Linked DNA regions of Homo sapiens: all the other regions are linked to region 3. The links are contacts of gene promoters, found by promoter capture Hi-C in blood cells and fetal thymus (Javierre and others, 2016). All regions are on one chromosome and are shown on one strand. The core of a region is centred on a gene start or on the middle of the fragment in contact, and the rest is flanking DNA. Distances in the headings are between cores, read along the strand shown. Region 1 holds the start of PCDHB6 (protocadherin beta 6). Region 2 has its middle 4.7 kb from the start of PCDHB15. Region 3 holds the start of DIAPH1-AS1 (DIAPH1 antisense RNA 1).

Region 1 (2,700 bases), core at 184-2,683, 410 kb after region 3:
CTCTCTCTGTCCAGCGCGCCTTCTGTTACCAGGGTGTAGAAATTCTCCACGGAAGGTCTTAGTAGAAAGGGGAGATTGTTCTCTATTGAACAAATAACCTGTTGGTTATGTCCAGAGTCTGCATCTGAAACACTGAAAACTGCCACTGTGATCTCTGGTAAGTTTTCTGGGATGAGGCTGATGAAGAACGACATGGTGAGTTCAGGGGCATTGTCATTCACGTCCAGGACCCTGACGACTAAAGAGCATTTTCCTGATAGGCCTCCACCATCTGTAGCCTCAACATCCACGTCATAAGACTGAATTTCCTCAAAATCCAAAGCCTTTCTCAGCCGAATTTCTCCTGTGATTGCGTTTATTTCGAAGGGTTGGTTGACGTCATCGACTTGAAACAGGGCGTAAGATACCTTCCCAAACGATCCTGCATCTAAATCTCTGGCTGAGACGGTAATAACCAGAGAGCCGAGGGGGTTGTTCTCAGGGACTTGTGCTTCATAGAGCTCCTGAGCAAACTCGGGGACGTTGTCATTGATGTCCAAAACCTGGATCTGAATCTCGGAGGTCCCTGACCGGGGCGGAGACCCGCCATCCAGCGCGATCAGCGTTAGCCTGAGTTGGGGCTGCTCCTCGCGGTCCAACGGTTTGTCTAGCACCAGCTCCGGGAACTTCCTGCCTTCGCTGCGATTGCGGGTGAGAACGTGGAAGTGAGGGTTGGAGCTGATTGTGTACCTCTGAAGGCCGTTGCTGCCGGTGTCTAAATCGTGTGCCATTTTCAAAGGAAATATCTTTCCTGGCATAGTAATTTCTGATATTTTCAGGAGCATTTCTCTGGCAGGGAATTCCGGGGCGTGGTCATTTATATCTCTGACTCGCAAGGAAGCCTGAAAAAACTGCAAGGGGTTTTCCAGTAACACTTGGAAAGGTAGCACACACGGCTCAGTGGAGCCACACAGCTCCTCCCGGTCCAGTTTTTCATTTAGCAGTAAATCATGGGTCTGTGGATCAAACTGCAAATGTTGTCTGTTCCCTTTGAAAACAACCCGAGCGCCCCGCGAAGCCAGCTCCCCCACCCTCAGTCCCAGGTCCTTTGTCAAGTTGGCCACAAACGTGCCACTTTCTGTCTCCTCCAATACGGAATACTGAATCGATTCAGAACCCACCTCTCCCCAAAGCATCAATAAAATGAAGAAAGCCACTTGCCTTTTCTTGTTCTGTACTTTAGTTTGCATCATGTCTATTATGTCTGAATACGGAAGAAAAATCCTTTTCAGCTCCCAATCACCACATCTACCGTCGACCCTCTCGGATGTCTTTGCAGAGATTTTTAAATTCGTTCTTACAACTTGTCTGGCGACGACTGCCTTCCCGGACACATCTATCTCAGCTTTAGCTGTAAACGTGGTCTGTATTTTTACTTGGCTTCTGGATGAAACGGAGTCCACCGAGTCTGCAGAGCTTTCATTCACTCTCTTAGCTTGTACCGCCACCACGCGTTCAAACTAATAACTTCATGAGATGTTTTCAGGTCAATAGCATTTCAGAAATCTGAGCATTATAAAGACTTTTAAGTCGAGTCAGTGTTTCTCAAACTGAGTGCGTGGACCGCATGCATAAATAATTGCTTGCGAGCGTTGGTTTTTTTGTGTGTATGTTTTTGTTTTTAAGCCAATTCCTGGGTTCACTCCCCTCTAGAACTTGAATCAAATTCCCTGGTGGTGCTAATTAAGGAGAAAGATTGAAGTGCAGATTCTACACTTCAGTCTTTCTCCTTTGATGCTTCAGCAGTGCAATTTATCTCTGATGAACTATTTAATCTATTAGTCCAAGAGGTACACTATTTAATTGTCCCAACAAACAATGCAAAACAACGAAGTTTGTTAGCAACAATAATGGTAAAATAAACAATAAATTATCTAAATTATATGACTCATAAATGGCATGAAAAAAAAAACCTACTTTGTTATATAGTTATGCCTGCACAGTAAAAAGAACAATTAGGCTATTAGGAGGAAAACTGAGGCCAAGAAGTACGTATGATACATGTATCTAAGTAAATTAAAGTATTTAAAAGAGGGACTAGAAGCAATCAAGTAGTTGTCATAAGCATTTTAGGATTCTACTCCATTTTTGCATGGATAGAATTAGACATTGTTTTAACAGTCTTGTGCATTTTATTTTTTGATCAAATTCCCCTCTTACATTATTTAATCAAGGTCCAAATATATTACCGTGTTGTACAAACATGATGCAACACAGAAAACAAACATTCAAGAATCACCTTCACCGTCTTCTCACAGCAAAAAGAACACCAAGTCCAATAAATACAGGCCAAATTAAGGTACTGTTAAAACAGGTGAGTTACATTTGAGTGAATGCCATGGAATTCAATGATGGAATATTATGGCTATATCCATTCCCATCTCACTAGTTTCTACTCAGATACATTGGAACATGTATCTCTAAACAAACTGAAAATGTGTGAAATAGATTAGTGCACATAGAAGAGGTAAAATATGCCAAACAATTCAATTCATTTCAGATTAATTTCATATTTATTGAGAGGTGAAATCAATTGAGTTCAAACAAAGTTCACTTCAGGTAAGGGCCAAGGTGATAGAAGATTAAAAATCAAGATATTTTCAAATACATAAATGCTAGGCAAAACAAATAAGGCTAAATAAAATCTAAACTCTGAATAGC
Region 2 (2,700 bases), core at 54-2,553, 320 kb after region 3:
CAGCCGCACCGCCACGAACAGGAGCACCGAGAAGAGGAAGAACGACGACACCAAGGCCAACGCCACCACCAGGTAGACGGTGAGCAAGTCGGCCTGGGCCTGGGCCGGGGCCGCTTCAGGGAACGGCAAGTAGGGCAGGGAGAAGCCATCCACCAGGAGCACGTGCAGCGTGGCGGTGGCCGAGCGCGGAGGCTCGCCATTGTCCTTGACCAGGACCATCAGCCTGTGCTTGGCTGTGTCACGCTCGCTCAGCAGCCTGTCAGTGCATTGTGCGCCCACACGCCGAACAGCCCTGGCTCCGTGGCCTTGAGCAACTGCTACGACAGCCAGGCGTTCTGGCCCGAGTCACCGTCCACCGCCACCACCTTGGTCACCAGGTAGCCCGGCTCGGCGGCCCGCCCGGGGCATCAGCTCGGTGCAGGGCGCGGAGCCGTTCTGCAGCGGGAACAGCACGAAGAGTGAGCTGTCGTTGGCGTCCAGCACCAGCACGCGCACCAGCGCCTCGCTGCTCAGCGCCGTGGAGCCGCGGTCTGAAGCGCCCACGCGGAACTCGAACTCCTGCAGGGCCTCGTAGTCCAGCGACCTGAGGGCGAACAGGTGGCCGTTGTCTGTGTTGATGGAGACCAGGGAGGCGAGGGGCAGGTGCGGGTTCCGGGGCGGCAGCAGCGAGTAGGTGACCTGGATGTTGGTGCCCGAGTCTCTGCGGTGCTGACGCTGCCAATATGCAGGGCGGGGCTGTTGTTCTCGCGGACGAACAGGGTGTAGGAGGTTTAGGTGAAGGTGGGGGCTTTGTCATTGACGTAGGAGACCAGCACCGTTATGTTGTACTCGGTTTTCAGCCTAGGAGTCCCCAAGTCCGTGGCTGTGTTGGTGATGTTGTACTCGGCTCTAATCTCTTTGTCCAGTGGTCCTTCTGTTAACAGCCAGTATAAATTCTCAACGGAAGGTTTCGGCATGAACGGAACATCATTTTGAATTGATCAAACTATTCTTCCATTTTTCCCAGAATCGCGGTCTTGAATGCTGAAAAGAGCTGCAACGGTCTCAGGAGAATTTTCGCGGATGGGGCTTGTGAATGAAGCCATGGTCAGTTCCGGAGCGTTATCGTTGATATCTACCACCTGTATTATGACAGTGCATTTTCCAGAAAGACCTGCCCCATCAGAGGCTTTAATATCCACCTGATATGACACAATTTTTTCAAAATCTAGTTTTCTGATTATTTTAATTTCTCCCCTTCGTTCATTAAGTGCAAATGTCTTAGAAATCTCTTCATCACCATAAAAAATGAGTAGAATATCTCACCATTAATTCCCATGTCTGAATCTCTAGCGGAAACAGTGGCAACAAGGGAATCCAGGGGGCTGTTTTCTGATATCTGCACCTGATAGAGTGGCTACACAAACTCAGGTGCATTGTCATTGATGTCCAAGATTTCAATGAGGACCAGAGCAGTCCCAGTTCTGGGAGGAGTCCCGCCATCTACTGCCATGAGAGTTAACCTGATCTCAGCCTGCTCCTCCCGATCCAGGGCTTTGTCCAGAACCAGCTCTGGGTATTTTCTGCCTTCACTGCCATTTTGGGTGAGAGCGTGGACATGGGAGTAGGGGTAGATGGTGTAGTTTTGGATGTTATTGATGGCCACATCCAAATCTTGTGTATTTTTCAGAGGAAACACAGTTCCTGGAGGAGTATTTTCCATGATTTCAAAATAATTTCTGCTTCTGGGAATACAGGGGAATTGTGTTTATGTCACTGACCAAAAGTTTAAACCTCCAAAGGTTCTTCCAGTAACACTTGGAATTGCAGCACACAAGGCTCAGTGATTCTACACAATTCTTCCCGGTCCAATGTCTCATTTACTTGCAGGTCTCCGGTCTGAAGTTTCAGCTGAAAATATTTTTTGTTATTGTTAAAAATGACCCGAGGCCTCCACTGGTATATTACTCTTACTTCTAGCCCTGGGTCCTTTGTTAGATTGGCCACAAAAGAACCACTTTCTGTTTCTTCTGCTACAGTATATTCCACTCCGCACAGTATATTCCACTCCGCACAAGTCTGAGACAGCATAACAAAGAGAAGCAGCACTTGCCTTATTCTAGGAAAGTGCTCCTTTTCAGCCTCCATTTCTCCAACACCAACAGCATTCAGGGTCCGGATGCCTATGTTGCGTTGGTAGGCAATCTGCTCTGGGAATCAATCCTTGCAGCAACGCAATTTTCGGTTAAGAAAGCCTCTTCTCTTTGATGGATCGAATGAGTGCTAGCACAGTAGTTGAAGAGATTCATTCTAACATTTCAGGAGTGTAAACTTAAGTGATATACTAGCTAAATCTGGTTTATTATGCAAACTCAATAGGTAGCCTAAGAGTTGTGGATAACTTATTTGTGAATATTGCCTAAGGACTGTGAGCTTGTTATGTTGACTTGTTACAGTATCTAAAATAATTTATAAAGAGCATCACCATCTATTGTTAATACTGAGATACACACATGTTGAAGCTGAGAGTCACTGAGACCTTGAAGAGGGAGCCAGCCAAGATCATGGATATAAAGGCTGAAGTTAAAGTAAAAAGTAAAATGCAGAAGAAAATATGTTAAGTTCACCTGAAATAGCAGGTTAAGCATATTCCCAACTGGAGAAGATCTCAACTCATTTTTAGTAAGCAATTATGTATCTCTTGTGGATTCATTGGAATAC
Region 3 (2,748 bases), core at 216-2,715:
TGCTGACATACCTGAGTCCTTGTTTGGGATAGTGCCTGTCCTTCCAGTCCTTCCCCACCCACATCCTAGAAGCAGACCTCTTTTTAGCACTCCCTAATTGAGTCACCATCCTGGGTGTGCTGGGAAAGTATCTGTGGGAAACTCAATGACTATATTATCTGAAAGACCAAATGCTTGGTGAAGTGCCCAGATTTTTAATACTGCTTTTCTGCTACCCTTCCAGACTTATATCTGTCCCCTTCTTTATAACTCTCAGCATCTGGTTCTTCCTTTGGGATTCTGTGTGGCTTTGTTCTTGTCCTTTAGGTTTGTTCATTAATGCCAGTTTGCCCTGTCCCTCCTTACAGCTTGCACATCTGTAATGGTCTAGTTCTGTGGGATTTTGCAGATAGTTGTATATTTTGGCCAAGGTATCAGTGATACGGTTACCTTTGGGCAGGGATAACTGCTATTCGGTTGGCATGATATTTTTTCCTTCTATAATGTATACCTTAGTGATTGTTTTAAAGTGCTGAATTTATCCCTTATGTATATTACAACCATGAAGAATATAAATCAGAAGTCCTCCATTTGGGCAGCTTCTTATATTAACACTTATATTAACATTAAGACCCTCTTACTGTCTCCTCTTCCCAGAATTAGAGAGTTGATGTAGTGCTTAATAGACATGGCTTATTGTATGCTAGGTGAACTTGGCAATTCCATAGCTATGTTACCCTCACAGAAAGTTATTTCCTGGAGAGATTATTAAGTGTTCTGATCTTTCATATATGCCTGAGAGATCTAAGATTCTTCCACAAAGACCCTATTTCTTCAGAGAAAACTATAGTGATGCCAGAGTCTTTTTTTTTTTTTTTTTAACAACTTGTGATTTTTGTGCACCTGTGTTGTATGTGTTGCCATTATCTCACTTTAGGGACGTTGGATAAACTGGCGTATTTGTGCAGCCTCATTTAAGTAGTGGCAACCATTAATGACTTGTACCCACAAGTTTTTCCAGATAATTTCTGTTTTTTCCACCTTTCTTACATGTTCTTTTTTAGTCATAGGTACTTGGCTTACTCAAGGGAGGTGTAGCGTAAGATAAAGATAATGGAGGGTGTTCCCTGTAGAATAGGTACAAATGCTGCAGGCTTTATCTTGGGCAGAGCAAGTAGGGTTTTGGTCCTGAGTAAGTGAGTGAGGTTAGGTGGAGCTGCCTGTCTTCCAGCCGTGCGGATACAACTGACTCAGTCCGTGTTCTCAACAGTTTTTGAAAAGCCCATTTTTCTATCCCACTTACTCCCACCTGCAGTTCTTTAAGAACGTAGTTTCCAGGATGTCAGGCAACTCCCCACTCCTCCATTTCCTGTTTGTGGTCTTCATTGAGAGACGCCTTAAACAGGAATTCCTGGGGAAGTGCAGGCTATAGCGGTGGGATTCCGGGGGTCATTAGTCCATTATTGAAGCTGGGGAATCATGTACTATAAAAGGACCTCCCTTCCGTTCTGTTGTCTCCTAGAAACTATTACTGATCATAACCAAGCAGTAACTGCAACTCAGGGCTGTTGACTTGTGCCCTTTGTCTTTAGAGACTGAAAATTATTTTCCCTTCTTGTGCCTCAGTTTCTATTAGTTGAATTTTAGAGCTCAACATCAAGATTTGTGACAAAATTAACTTGGACTCTGTAGGACTGATTCGTTTGAAATGCAAAAGTAGTGAAGAACATAAAACAGACTCCCTATCTTGGCCGCCAGGGGGTGCCCTTTCCCTTCGCTTTACTGTCTGGCACTCCCCACCGCATTCAGCCATTTTAGACAGATTGTTTTTGCTCCCAGCTAACTCCATTTTGTATTTGTGACGCAGGAATAAAAAAAGGAGTTAGGCAAAGGAGGAGTCTGGTTTGCAGAGGGAGGGAGACTGGCTGAGGCGCAGCTACGTACTCTTTTACTCAGCAGTTGCTCATCAGGGACACACCTTGCTGCAGGCTGCCTGCATCCTGAGCAATCGATGCCGCAAGTCCTTGCCAGCGGAGCACAGAGCAAAATGGTTTGGCTGCCGGACACCTACTAACAGTGACAGAGTGCTAGCTTTTGAGGCAGCAGGCCAGGGCATCCCCTCTGCCTCATCTAGACTCTAATCCTGGGTTTAGGTGTTTTTGCTACAGAGATGTTTAGGGCAGTTTTCTTAATTATAGGATCAGATAAGAAAAGATACCCCCAAAAAAAGAAGAAAAAAAGGAACCCCTTTCACTTAGCTGTCTGGGAAGAATCAAATGCCCCAAGGACTCTAGGGAAATGGTCCTGAATTTTTTTAAAAAATGTTATTTTTGAAACCGTGAAAAAAATGCACGCACACATACACACATATATGTAAAGAGACTAGTATGAACACCCCTATGTCCATCACCCATTTAAAAAACTTAATCAACAGCTAGTCTTGTTTCATATACCTGTATCAACTTTGTCTTTGCCACCCATTATTTTTACATGTATCCTTGTTCATATTATTTAATCCTTAAGCAGTTCAGAATGTGTGTCAAAAAAATTAGGACTTTTAAAAGAAGATAATTACTACCATTATCACATTTAAAAAATTCTTTATCATCAGATAGCCAGTTAGTATTAAATTTCCCAAATTATCTTATGATAGTTGTTTTTTTTAATAGTTCATTTGAATCAGAGCCAAATAAAGTCTACACATTGCAGTTGGTTGATGTCTCTATAGGTTCTCTCTTATGCTCTTTTTTATTTTTTATTTTGCAATTT

The links. Contacts are between HindIII fragments. The CHiCAGO score rates a contact against its expected background, and 5 or more counts as called.
Region 1: the fragment with the promoter of PCDHB6 here is called in contact with the fragment with the promoter of DIAPH1-AS1 in region 3 in 2 of 17 cell types (naive CD8 T cells and naive CD4 T cells); the score reaches 7.6 in naive CD8 T cells.
Region 2: a fragment that was not itself captured here is called in contact with the fragment with the promoter of DIAPH1-AS1 in region 3 in 3 of 17 cell types (endothelial precursors, fetal thymus and naive B cells); the score reaches 13.7 in endothelial precursors.

What each region holds. Positions count from the first base shown.
Region 1 is chr5:141,148,790-141,151,489 of GRCh38, reverse strand. PCDHB6 (protocadherin beta 6) reads right to left here and starts at 1,433. Exons shown (of 1, transcript NM_018939.4): 1 at 1-1,433. The coding sequence starts at 1,232. It also overlaps PCDHB@. The HindIII fragment of the contact is 6,099 bases long and covers 1-2,700 here.
Region 2 is chr5:141,239,350-141,242,049 of GRCh38, reverse strand. It overlaps PCDHB@ and the pseudogene PCDHB19P. Among named protein-coding and RNA genes, the nearest start is that of PCDHB15, 4.7 kb to the left of the region's middle. The HindIII fragment of the contact is 3,709 bases long and covers 1-2,700 here.
Region 3 is chr5:141,557,028-141,559,775 of GRCh38, reverse strand. It overlaps DIAPH1-AS1 (DIAPH1 antisense RNA 1), which reads right to left and starts at 1,465. Exons shown (of 3, transcript NR_038333.1): 1 at 1,289-1,465. The region is part of intron 18 of DIAPH1 (diaphanous related formin 1); the gene reads left to right. RefSeq lists enhancers at 1,580-1,874, 1,635-2,487. The HindIII fragment of the contact is 6,603 bases long and covers 1-2,748 here.